2 separate regions of the Homo sapiens genome follow, and region 2 is linked to region 1. Evidence: promoter capture Hi-C in 16 types of primary human blood cells and fetal thymus (Javierre and others, 2016). All regions are on one chromosome and are shown on one strand. Each heading gives the region's core, a stretch centred on a gene start or on the middle of the fragment in contact. The rest is flanking DNA. Distances are from core to core; before and after follow the strand shown. Region 1 holds the start of CTRC (chymotrypsin C). Region 2 holds the start of LOC124903851 (a long non-coding RNA gene).

Evidence for each region. Contacts are between HindIII fragments. The CHiCAGO score rates a contact against its expected background, and 5 or more counts as called.
Region 2: a fragment that was not itself captured here is called in contact with the fragment with the promoter of CTRC in region 1 in 3 of 17 cell types (neutrophils, monocytes and total B cells); the score reaches 6.0 in neutrophils.

Annotation. Positions count from the first base shown.
Region 1 is chr1:15,433,719-15,440,120 of GRCh38, reverse strand. It overlaps CTRC (chymotrypsin C), which reads right to left and starts at 1,678. Exons shown (of 8, transcript NM_007272.3): 1 at 1,617-1,678. The coding sequence starts at 1,656. RefSeq lists an enhancer at 5,949-6,402. The HindIII fragment of the contact is 3,491 bases long and covers 1-2,806 here.
Region 2 is chr1:15,335,312-15,341,687 of GRCh38, reverse strand. It overlaps FHAD1 (forkhead associated phosphopeptide binding domain 1), which reads right to left. Exons shown (of 34, transcript NM_001391957.1): 15 at 2,137-2,207. All of the region lies in intron 1 of FHAD1-AS1 (FHAD1 antisense RNA 1), which reads left to right. It overlaps LOC124903851 (a long non-coding RNA gene), which reads left to right and starts at 762. Exons shown (of 3, transcript XR_007065480.1): 1 at 762-1,308; 2 at 2,725-2,892; 3 at 3,235-6,376. The HindIII fragment of the contact is 2,019 bases long and covers 241-2,259 here.

The sequences.
Region 1 (6,402 bases), core at 429-2,928:
TGAAATGTGAAGAATCACACTAATGCGGTGAGTTTGCCCTGAGAACTGAATTAGACAACACATAAAAAAGAAAGCGTTTGGCCGGGCACGGTGGCTCACACCTGTAATCCCAGCACTTTGGGTGGCCAAGGCGGGTGGATCGCTTGAGATCAGGGGTTTGACACCAGCCTGGCCAACATGGCGAAACCCTGTCTCTACTAAAAATACAGAAATTAGCCAGGCGTGGTGGTGCATGCCTGTAATCCCAGCCACTCAGGAGGCTGAGGCAGGAGAATCGCTTGAGCCTGGGAGATGGAGGTTGCAGTGAGCCGAGATCGTGCCATTGCACTCCATCCTGGGTGATAAGAGCAAAACTCCATCTCAAAAAACAAAACAAAACAAAACAAAACTGGCTGGCATGTGTGCGAGTGCCCGGTACACCTGTGTTCTTCTGTCTGTTTTTAGGCCCCTGCATCATGGTGTGTGTGTGAGAGAGCAGTAAATCCACTGTTATAGCTGGGAAGCTGTGTGGAGCGGTCAAGAACACGTGCTGTTCCGCGAGACAGACGTGGACTCAAATTCTGCCTCTTCCACTAACCTGCCATGTGATGTCAGGCAAGATACTAAGTCGCACGGAACCTCGATGTCCTCATCTGTAAAATGGGGCTATGAAAAGACCCTACCTCTTTTTCTTTCTTTTTCTTTTTTTTTTTTTTTTGAGACGGAGTTTCACTCTTGTTGCCCAGGCTGGAGTTTGATGGCGCGATCTCGGCTCACTGCAACCTCCTCCTGGGTTCAAGCAATTCTCCTGCCTCAGCCTTCTGAGTAGTTGGGATTACAGGTGCCCGCCACCACGCCTGGCTAATTTTTGTATTTTTAGTAGAAACGGGGTTTCATCTTGTTGGCCAGACTGGTCTCAAACTCCTGATCTCAAGTGATCCACCCACCTCGGCCTCCCAAAGTGCTGGGATTACAGGCGTGAGCCACCATGCCTGGCAATAGACCCTACCTCTTAAGGTTGTTTTGAGGATTAAATTGGCTCCTACATGTAAGGGGCCTAGCATAGCGTCTGGCACATAGTAAACACACAGGAAACAGGAGCTGCTATTATTACTGTTGTTGTTGTTAGCTGGAAGGACTCTTCATTAAGTGCTCTCCTTTGCCAAAAAAGTTAGTGAGATTTAGAGAGGTGAAATGACTTTTCCAGGTCCTGCAGAGAAGAAGTGGCATTTAAGCTAAGTCCCTGGGCTCCTAATCTGGGAAAACGCCACCAAAATGATGGAATGGAGAATCCTCAAGGGAGAGAGAATGCTGGGAAAGGCAGACCCCGATGGTCCCTGGGGTGAACCCAGGATGAGGCATCTCGTGTCCCTCCCCCTTGCGTGGTGCTTTCCACACCTCATTTCTAACTGGGGACACGTCAGATCATCTTCCCTGTTTTGCAGATGTGGAAACAGAGTTGGCAGGCAGGCTGTGGCTTGTCTGACACACAGCTGGTTGGTAGCATCTGAACCCACAGGGGACCCCAAAGTGTCTTACCTGGAGAGCAGAGGCCCCCCCACTCCCCATCCCGTCCTTGCCCTGGAGGCCAGCCCGAGCTCACAGCCTGCTAGCTGCAGCCCCACCCCACCGCTTACCACAGGCCAAGAGCGCAGCGAGGACAGTGATGCCCAACATGGTTAGGTGCTCAGGACTGGCTGACCATCGGGATGGGCTGGGGCACACTTATAGGCAGGAGCAGGTGAGTGCACCTGGTCAAGGCCAAACCGCCCCTTGGAGAGAAACCTGCTCTGATAAGGCCCTTTCCCTGACCTTGGGTGGTTACTGTTTAATTTGGGCAGGAGACAGGGCTTTCTTAGAAGTATGGATTTTCCAAATATCCTGAAACAGAAAATTCTGAGTTGCAGTGCTTTTTGGCATCCCCCACCCCACTCTGTTTGACGTGTGTGTTCATTCTCTCTCCCTACCTTATACTATTTATTTATTTATTTGGAGATGGAGTCTTGCTCTGTTGCCCAGGCTGAAATGCAGTGGCACAGTCTCAGCTCACTGCAACCTCCACCTCCCGGGCTCAAACGATTCTCGTGCCTTAGCCCCCTGTGTAGCTGGGACTACAGGCGCCTGCCACCACGCCAGGTTAATCTTTTGTATTTTATTTATTTTTTTGAGACAGGATCTTGCTCTGTCACCCAGGCTGGAGTCTCAGCTCACTACAACCTCCGCCTCCCGAGTTCAAGCGATTCTCCTGTCTCAGCCTCCCAAGTAGCTGGGACTACAGATGTGTGCCACCATTTTTTTTTTTTTTTTTTTTTTGTATTTTAGTAGAGACAGGGTTTCACCCTGTTGCCTAGGGTGGTCTTGAACTCCTGAGCTTAGGCAATCTGCCTACCTCAGCCTCCCAAAGTGCTAGGATTACAGGTGTGATTACAGGCCGTTACCTTATTCTTTTTAGTTATTTATTGGGCACCTACTGTGTGTCAGGCATTGCGCTCAATTCTTCTTGCATTATCTCACTTAATTCTTCCAACAACATGAAATAGACGCGGTTATCTGCTCTGAGGTGAGATGAGAAAGGACCAGGCGCAGTGGTGCATGCCTGTAGTCCCAGCTACTCCTGAGGCCAAGGTAGGAGGATCGCTTGAGCCCAGGAGTTCGAGGCTGCAGTGAGCCGTGATCGTGCCACACTGCATTCCAGCGCGGGTGACAGAACAAGACCTTGTCTCTAAAAAAATAAAATAAAAGTGAGGAAGCTGAGACTCAGCGGGTAAGTGACCATCTAGGGTCACACGGCTGGGCAGCAGCAGAGCCAGACTTTGAAGCCAAAGCTTCTAACACCAGCCTGGGGCTTCAAGCTGTGGAGACATGCTGCTCCTTCTCTGCCTTTCTAGTGCTATTGGATCGCTTCCTGGCTCTCTCTCTGTCTCATCTTTCTAATTGCCTGGGCTTGATGCACTCCTGCACCTGCCTCCAGGGCTGTGGTTGGAGGCAGGGATGCAGCAGGCTCTGGAAGGTGCTTAGTTGGCCAGATTCCTTCCTGGAGTCAGCTTAGTTGTAGGTCCTCAGTTTCCCCATCTCTAAAATGGGCAAAAGGACCAGATGGACTTTCAGGCTCCTTTCAGTTCTACAATTCTGTAACTTGAATGTCAAGGTCAGTGGCAGATCTGAGGGCCCAAAGCACTGAGTAGCAGAAATTCTACCAGAGCCTCCGGCATTCGGGGTTGGCCATCCCTTGGAACATGTGGTTTGATCCATTCGCCCCAAGGCCTGGCCTCAGCCTGGTTGGTTAGATTCTGTCTTTCGTTTCCCCTCTACTCATACTGAGCTCCCCTTGAAGGTCATTTTCTGAGCTGGGCCTACTGGCCACCTTAGGAATTCCTTCCTGATAGAAAAGTTCAGAGCACTACGCACCCCGCCATTCATAGCGGTGATCTGGGGGTGAAGGAGGATTCTAACTTACACTTTTTTTTTTTGAGAGTCTTGCTCTGTGGCCCAGGCTGGAGTGCAGTGGTGCGATCTCAGCTCACTGCAACCTCCACCCCTGGGTTCAAGCAATTCTGCTTCCTCAGCCTCGCGAGTAGCTGGGATTATAGATGTCCACCACCATGCCCGGCTAATTTTTGTATTTTTAGTGGAGACCGGATTTCACCATGTTGGCCAGGCTGGTTTGTTTATTTATTTATTTATTTTTTGAGATGGAGTTGGAGTCTCGCTCTGTCGCCCAGGCTGGAGTGCAGTGGTGCGATCTTGGCTCACTGCAACCTCTGCCTCCCAGGTTCAAGCAATTCTCCTACCTTACTTAGTCTCCTGAGTAGCCGGGACCAGTGCCACTGGCTAATTTTTGTTCCTTTTGTAGAGACGGGGTTTCACCACGTTGGCCAGGCTGGTCTCGAACTCCTGACCTCAAGTGATCCACTCACATAGGCCTCCCAAAGTGCTAGGATTACAGGTGTGAGCCACCATGCCTGGCCTCTAACTACACATTTTTATGCAGCTTAAATTCTTTTTTAAAACAAACATAGTTACCTTGGTAGTATAAAAATCAATAGGTTTAATTTTTTAAGAAAGATAAAAGTGGGAATGTGCACTGGGGGCTCTGCTCAGCTATGGTGACATCAAGGCCTCAGTCCTGGGGTGTCTGGGGACTTCAGCCTGCGGGGAATTTTCTGTTTCATTTTGGAGGTTGGTTGTGCATGATACAGGTTTATCAGTGGCTACTGGCCAGTCTGCTTCAGACCCAGGGCTTTTGGTTGCCAAGCCTTGCAAAGGGTCATTCTAGCCTGGAAACTGGGAACATAAGCAGAGATATGGCTTGAGCTAGGTGATAGGTCTTGGAAATTAGCAGGGTCTGAAGCGGGGAGACAGGACACCTGGTTTCCATCTCAGTGACAGAATGGATGACCCAGACCCTGAGCAACCTCTTTGAGCCTCAGTTTCTCTCATGTCCCTTGATCAACTTGGGAAAATGAATTAACTGGGCGTCTCCTTGTAGGAGCTCATCAATTTATACTCAGAGATACAGCAACTTGTTAGCACGCATCTCAGCTGTGTATACATGCCCATGGATTCACAAGTATACGTGGACAGGCGACGCACACACGCACATACACACACACGCACACACACATGCACACACACATGCACACACATGCACACATGCACACACGCACACAAACACATGGACACACACGCACACACACATGCACACAATGCACACACCCACGCGCACACATGCACACACAAACATACACACACATATGCACACATGCACACACGCACACACACACATGCACACACACGCTCCTCCACGTCCACAAATATGCACACACCAATGATATAATACATATAAAGCATTCGGTTATGTGTAGAGCCAAGCAGAGCCATGGGCCACCCATTCAAACATGTACACAAACATAGAAATAGCCAAATGGATTGATGATGAGGTCCCAGGTGAAGAGAGTTATTGTCAGCTCTTTGAAGGTTCACAGAGAAACTGACCTTTTTGGAGGGAGGTTGCTGGCTGCTCAGCTATAGGGAAACTTGCTTGTTTTGAGACATCTACAGGGAGGGACCTTTTATGTAAGGCAGCACCAAACAATTGTCCCTGGAGAAAACCGAGGTCGCCCTTAATCTGTTTCAGATGCTGAAGACAGGATGTTGAGTGCTTTGCTTAGGGTTGAACTAAACCCACCACTATTGCTTCATAGCTCTATGGCCTTATGCTTGTGACGCAACCTCTCTGTGCTTCCTCGTTTATAAAGTGAGAGTGAAAACGGTACCTTTGGCCGGGCACGGTGGCTCATGCCTGTAATCCCAGCACTCTGGGAGGCTGAGGTGGGCAGATCACCTGAGGTCGGGAGTTCAAGACCAGCCTGGCCAACATGGTGAAACCCTGTCTGTACAAAAATACAAAAATTAGCCGGGCATGATGGTGGGTGCCTATAATCCCAGCTACTCGGGAGGCTGAGGCAGGAGAATTGCCTGAACCCGGGAGGCGGAGGTTGCAGTGAGCCGAGGTCGTGCCATTGCACTCCAGCCTGGGTGACTGAGCAAGACTCCGTCTCAAAAAAATAAAAAGAAAAAGAAAGAAAATGGTACCTCCCTCCTAGGGCTGTTGGAAGAAGTGCCTGGCATATGGCAAGGACGGTCTAAATGTTTGCTATTACTATTATTATTGTTGTTATCTGGTTCTTATGAGAAAGCTTGAGACTGGACTTGGTCACTGAGTACTTTTGCCTTCATGGGCCCCTTTCTCCATTTAAAAAATATTAAAAACTGGCTGGGCATGGTGGCTCGTGCCTGTAATCCCAGCTACTCAGGAGGCTGAGGTGAGAGGATCCCTTGAGGCCAAGAGTTCAAGACCAGCCTGGGCAACATGGCGAGACCCCTGACTCTAAAAGAATTTAAAAAATTACCTGGGTGTGGTGGCACATGCCTGTAGTCCCAGATACTCTAGAGGCTGAGGTGGGAGGACTACTTGAGGCCAGGAATTTGAGGCTGCAGTAAGCTATGATCATGCTACTGCATTCTAGCCTGGGTGACATAGAGAGACCCCAACTCCAAAAAATAAAACATAAAAAAATGAAAAATTATGTTTCCTTAAAAAAAATAATAAAAATTATGTTTTATTGTATGGTGATAACACTGAATATAATCCAGTTTGGATCCTTTTCATTTTTTTTCTTACTGATTTTAAAAAAATCAAAACATTTTGTGGGCCTCTAAAGGTGTCATGGGCTCCAGGCCCTGTGGCCCCTCCTTCCGTGAGGTTCTAGACGACCCAAGGGCTGAGACAGAGAGAGTTTGGGGAATGGTCTATGGCTCTCCCTGAGCACCCTCTCCAGGCCCTGGAGGTGCCTTTAGCTTTGTCCCAGGGCAGCCAGGAGAAATTTGTTCTTGCTGGAAAAGGTGGACAGGCGTAGGAGC
Region 2 (6,376 bases), core at 1-2,500, 98 kb after region 1:
TAAAGAGTCTTTCCCCATTTGTTTACCAATTGTTTACCTTTCTGGGTACAAAGGTTTACCCAAAAGTTTCTTAAAATCACAGAACACTACAGCATGCTGTGGTTAAGAATTCAGACTCTGGATCTAGAAAGAATCCCAGCTCTAGTTGTTTCTAGATGCTTCCTCATTTAGAAAATGAAGTTAATAACAGTATTGATCTTTTAGAGTTGTGAGGATTAAGTGAGATAATGATGGAAAGCTTTTAGCACAGTGCTGAGCACATAGTAGGTGTTCAGTAAGTGGTAGGTGGGTGTGAGGAAAAAAAGCAGTCATGTAGGAGCCAGGACGCTTGAACATTTGTCTTGATTCTTCACCCATTAGCTGTGTGACACTGAAATTGTCCTTATCTGAAAAATAAGGAGAAGGGACTAGACCAGGGGTTGACAAACTACAGCCCACAGGCCAAATCGGGCCCACTGCATACTTTTGTAAATAAGGTGGTGTTTTTGTTTTGTTTTGTTTTTTTTGAGATGGTGTCTTGCTCTGTCGCCCAGGCTGCAGTGCAGGGGCACAATCTTGGTTCCCCGCAACCTCTGCCTCCCGGGTTCAAGTGATTCTCCTGCCTCAGCCTCCTGAGTGGCTGAGATTACAGGTGCCCACCACCACACCTGGCTAATTTTGGTATTTTTAGTAGAGATGGGGTTTTACCATGTTGGCCAGGCTGGTCTCGAACTCCTGACCTCAGGTGATCCACCCGCCTCAGCCTCCCAAAGCGCTGGGATTACAGGCATGAGCCACCGTGCCCGCCGTAAATAAAGTTTTATTGGAACAGTGCCATGCTTATCATGTCCATTGCTTACATATTGTCTATGGCTACTTTCATTTTACCATAGCAGAGTGGAAGAGGTATGAATATGGTCTGCAAAGCATAAAATATTTACCATCTGGCCCTTTACAGAGAAAGTTGCCAATCCCTGGACTCAAGCCTCTGTGGCTGATTGGCATGGTGGTCCCTTCTTTACCCCACTCTATCCATGTCTAGGGCTATGTAACTTGCAGTGCCCGCCCATATTTTGCCTCCAGACACTGAACTCAGCCATGTGACTTGTTCTGGCCAATGGGATCTTAGCAGACATAACACAAGCAGAAGGTTGAAAAACACTATGTGATTGGGCCACTTTCTTTTATACCTCGTAGTCTCCATGAGAACAGCCTAGGCTTGCTTGCTGGGGGATGAGAGACACAGGGAGCTGAGTCACTCCAGCTGAGGCCAGTCTAGATCAACCAAAGGCCAGCTAACACCCAGACAAGTGGGTGGGCCCATCCAAGGTCAGCAGAGCCGCCTTGCCACTGACCCCAGACACGTGAGGAGTAAATAGCAATTGCTGAATGCCGCTGAAGTTTTGTGGTTGTTTATTATATAATACTATTATGGCAATAGCTATCAGAATGATATAACCCGTAAAGCTCATTTGCCTCTAGAATATTTCTTTTCTTTTAGTAATTCTGCTGCCTGTGCTATAGATAGCTGTACTTTGTCCACTGGATTTAGTAAACACAGTTTTCAAAATCTGATGGCATTAAGGCTGGTGCAGTGGCTCACGCCTGTAATCCCAGCACTTTGGGAAGCTGAGGTGGGTGGATCACTTGAGGTCAGGAGTTCAAGACCAGCCTGGCCAACATAATGAAACCCTGTCTCTACTAAAAATACAAAAATTAGCAACACATGGTGGCAGGCGCCTGTAATCCCAGCTACTCAGAAAGCTGAAGCAGGAGAATCACTTGAACCCGGGAGGCAGAGGTTGCAATGAGCCGAGATTGCACCACTGTACTCCAGTCTGGGCAACAGAGCGAGACTCAAAAAAAAAAAATCTGATGGCATTAAGTCTTCTGGGCCTTTGACAGAGGAAAACAAACAGTGTGGTTGGCCCAGGAGGCCAGAGGGCAGCACCCTGTCATTGTCCTTACCCTCCTGGGAGATCTTAGCCAACCTTTTCTGTACCTCTTTGTGTGCAAATGAAGAAATCATTTCACCTATTGGAGGGTGTGGACTGGACTAGCTGATAAAGAAAAAACAGGTTTCAAATGCACAGTGCTATATAAATGCCAACCAGGGGCCGAAATGAACTTTGGAAAAAAAGAAATTAAAAGAATTACCTGAAGTTCCTGGGCCTGGCTCATAAGTTTTTTATAATGTTCCAGAAGATATATCAGATACAAAGAGAACCCTTAAAAAAAGAGAAGCAGGAAGAATGTAAGTATCAATTCAACTCCAAAGCTTGCAGACAGGTGGATGAAAGCAACGTTGCCATCCCATCAAAACAACGTGAGCTGCCATCCAACCTGTGGTTTTAAAGTAGTTGATAAGCAGCCGGGCACGGTGGCTTAGGCTGGGCATGGAGGTTCACACCTGTAACCCCAGCACTTTGGGAGGCTGAGATGGGCAGATCACCTGAGGTCAGGAGCTCGAGACTAGCCTGGCTGGCCAGCGTGATAAAACCCCATCTCCACTAAAAATACAAAAACTAGCTGGGTGTGGTGGCGCATGTTTGTAATTCCAGCTACTTGGGAGGCTGAGGCATGAGAATCGCTTGAAACTGGAAGGCAGAGGTTGCAGTGAGCCCAGATTGTGCCACTGCATTCCCGCTCAGGTGACAGAGCGAGACTCAGTCTCAAAAAAATAAAAATAAAAATAAAGTAGTTGATAAGCCTTGGTTGAGCTCACATCCAACTTTCTTTTTGGAGGTGGAAAACAACCCATCAACAGAACACCTATTTACTGTCTACTGTGTGTGAAGCATGGTGCTGAGTGTGGGGGATGGTCTAAAGCCAAGACCTCCAGGGGCTTACAGTTCAGTCCGAAAGACAAGGTGTAAATGCCTGCTGGAAACATGCAGTGACCCCAGGTGGCATGTGAGTGACTGCTGAAGGAGAGGGGAGGGTGAGGGTGTCAGAGGAGGGGGAGATCATTCACCTGGAGTGAGCGAGTAAGACCACTTGGTTGAAGAACTACTGGGTGTGGATGCTGTTGGGTGGGCAGAATTCAGAGAGCCGGGGGAGGGCGCTTCAGAACAGGGGTGCGCGGGGCTGAATGATGACCCCCTACGATTCCAGGTCCGAATCCCTGGAACCTGTGGGTGTGACCGTACAGGGCAAAAAGAGCTTGGCAAATACGATTAAGTTAAGGATTTCGAGATGGGGTGTTATCCTGGATTATCTGGGTGGACCCAATGTCATCACATGGCTTCTTATAAGGAGACAGACGGAGGCTTGACCACAGACAGAGGGGAAGGTGATGTGATGGAAGCAGAGACTGGAAGATGCCACATCGCTGGCTTTGAAGATGGAGGAAGGGGCCATGAGCCAAGGAATGCAAGGAATGAAGCTCTAGAGGCTGAAGAAGGCCAGGAAACGGATACTGCTCTAGAGCCTCCGGAAGGAACTTTAGCCCAGTGAAACTGAATTAATCCTGAATGCTAAGAGAATAATGTGTTGTTTTAAGCCAGTCTCTTGTGGTCATTTGTTACAATAGTCACAGGAAGCCACAGTTTCACACCGGGATGTGGGGGTGGTGGGGGTGGGATTTGGAAAAGGCAGTGCTCCTCCCGGGAAGTGCTGAGCTTACTTGGGCTGGAGTAGATGATGGGAGAGGGAGGAGCAGACAGTGGAGGAGGCATGGAAGGGTGAGGTCAAGCCGTGACACTCCTGAAACCGTCGGCTTGAGAGAGGAAACTTGATTTAAACATGACTGAAATGTGCCCAGTGGGTCCCCAATTTATAGATGAGGCAGTGGCGTTCTGAGACGCAGGCCTGCCCAACGCCACACAGCAGGCCAGTGGTTGAGCCAAGACTAATTGGTGTGACTCGAGGTCTGAGTCACTCCTATTCCAGCGGCTGACAGAACAGTGAAGTGGCCTGATGAAGAGCGTTGTTTTTTTTTTTAAAGAAAAATAGCTGGGCTGCATTCGAGAGGCTGGAGCTGGCAGGGTTTCTTTGCTGGAGCACTGCTGCTATGTCGGGCCGTATTGCTGGTATTGCACTGCTGATATTGTCAAGTCTTTGCTGTTGGGGCTGTCTTAGGCATTGTGGGATGGTTAGTAGCATTCCTGGTCTCTACCCACTGGATGCCAGGGGCACCCCTACTCACCCCACCCCAGTTTTGACAACCAAAAATGTCGCCAGACGATCCTGGATGTTGCCTGTGATAAGCTCCCCTCCTCTGAGTGAGAGGCAGGGAGCTCCGCTAAGGGCCCGAGAGACGCCCAGGTATTCAGTGCTGATCCTCTAACTGAGGGTGGGAGAAGTGAGGATGAGAGGGAAGAAAGGGAAAGCCTTTTAAAGGGGTAGAATGGTGGCCTCGTCATCAGACGGGAGAGAGACAGGTTGGGGTTGCGGTGGGGTGTGGCAGGGAGAGAGAAGGAGCCCCCAGGCTGTTTCAGACATGCTGAATTTGAGGCACTGGCAGGACTCTGGGGAGGGAGGGTCAGCAGAGAGCCGGACATGCCAATCGGTAATGCCGGCCCAGCCCAGCCCATCCAGGGTCCTTGTGTGAATGAAGAAAGAGGCCCCCTTCCTCCTGGTGGCCATGGCCCCTGGCCAGGGACCCCACCTACTGCCTTGGCTGGACTCCCTGCACCACTTTCCTGGCAGCCCCTCCTGCAGAGGCGTCCGTGTGGAAAACACATAGGAGTGGCTGGGGAAGCCCGGAAGTGCAGAGTTTCTTCATGAGAAAGGAGATGGGGTGGACCAAGGGCTGACTGCACAGGAGAAAACACCCTCGTTAGGGATAGGAGTTGGTGAAGGGGGCTGCTGGGAATGAATGGAAAAGATCAGGAGGGAAGCAGAGCGCCTAAAGGGTTTCAAAAAAGAGAATGAAGAGCGTTGGGCAGGTCAGAGACACAGTCCCCGAGAGGGTGGTGGCCTAGTCAGTGCTGCAGGGGGCCCGTGTCAGTTACTTGGCAGAAAGGCCAAGAAGCTGGCAATGAAGACCGAGGGTGCAACACGCTTCTTAAAGATCACAGGTGAAGACAGGAGTAAGAGCAATTGAAAAGGAGCGAAAGAAGCGATGGATTCCAGAGAAGAATGATTTTTTTCAGGATGGTACAGCCATCTTGAAGTGCCCCTTTGATGGCAAAGGGAAGGAACTAAGAGGAAAAGAAAGGCCGCTGACGCCAAAGAAAGAAGAATTTGTGCACAAGGTCCCTGGGAAGGAGAGGAAAGGGGAGACAGGGCAGGGTACGTGCTGCATGTAGGAGGAAGACCTAGTGGGGATAATGGAGGGAAGGAATAAAAGGTGGGCCAAGAGAGAAAAAGGAAGTGAGGAGAACATGTTCTTGTGTGGGGCAATGCACCATTCGGAGGATTTCCAGCACAGAAGCGTGAGAACAGCAATATTATAATAATAGCAGACCTGGTGCGTGCCAGTGCTATGCCAAGAGTTTGATACGTTTTTCTAATCATTATAAACAACCTGGTAAGGAAGTATGTTCATATTTATAGGTGAAACGACAGAAGCTCCCCAAGGTTAAGCTACAGAGCTGGTAAGTGTTAGAATCAGAATTCAGACCTAGATCTGTCAATCTCTTTTCAAAGGGTTTGGAGGCTTGAGAGTACAGGGTTGGGTTGGTGCGTTGGAGAGGTGCATTGCAAGGATACCAAGATGGCGGAGGAGGTGAGATGGCCGGGCTGACATTGGCTTGGCCCACTGGACCTGGTGAATACAGGGATTTGTGGAGGCTCTGTTGGGATGAGTCTGGGATTTTGCTCGGCTGCAACGTGTGACCCAGGAATCAAAGGGGAAGGATGAAATCATGGTTGGGATCTGAGGAGGACTAAGGGGAGAGGTAGCTGAGGATGCTGAAGGGGAGGCCAGTATTTGATCACATTTCTATTTCTAGATTAGATGACTAACTGTAATCATAATGGGGATTTTGCTCTTTGGGGGAAGGAACAAGTCTTTCTTATACTTCTGTTTACAAAAGTTATAAATGTTGGTTATAAAAACCCAAATGTTACAGAAATTCATAATGTGGGAAGTGTTTGCCACTGCGTCTTCATGTTCTGCACAGTGGCTGGCACACAGGGGCCCTCAATGAACAGTTGTTGAACAACTGAATGGAAGTCAAGGTCCAGTGCAATCCCACCCTGCTGGGATAATACTCCTAACAGTTTGATGTCTTTTTCTCAAGGTTGTTCTTTTGCTCAGATACTGACATTTAAAAAAAAAAAAAGCACACCAAGCATATTGTATTGCAACTTGCTTTCTTTTCAGTTAAAGACACAGTGTATCTTGGATAGTTGAGTGATTTGCCATGCATGCAAGAAGAGTCTTTTATTTGTAACAAAGTCTTGCAGAAATAGACACAAACGACGGAGCTTGCAGAGAAAAATGTAAAAA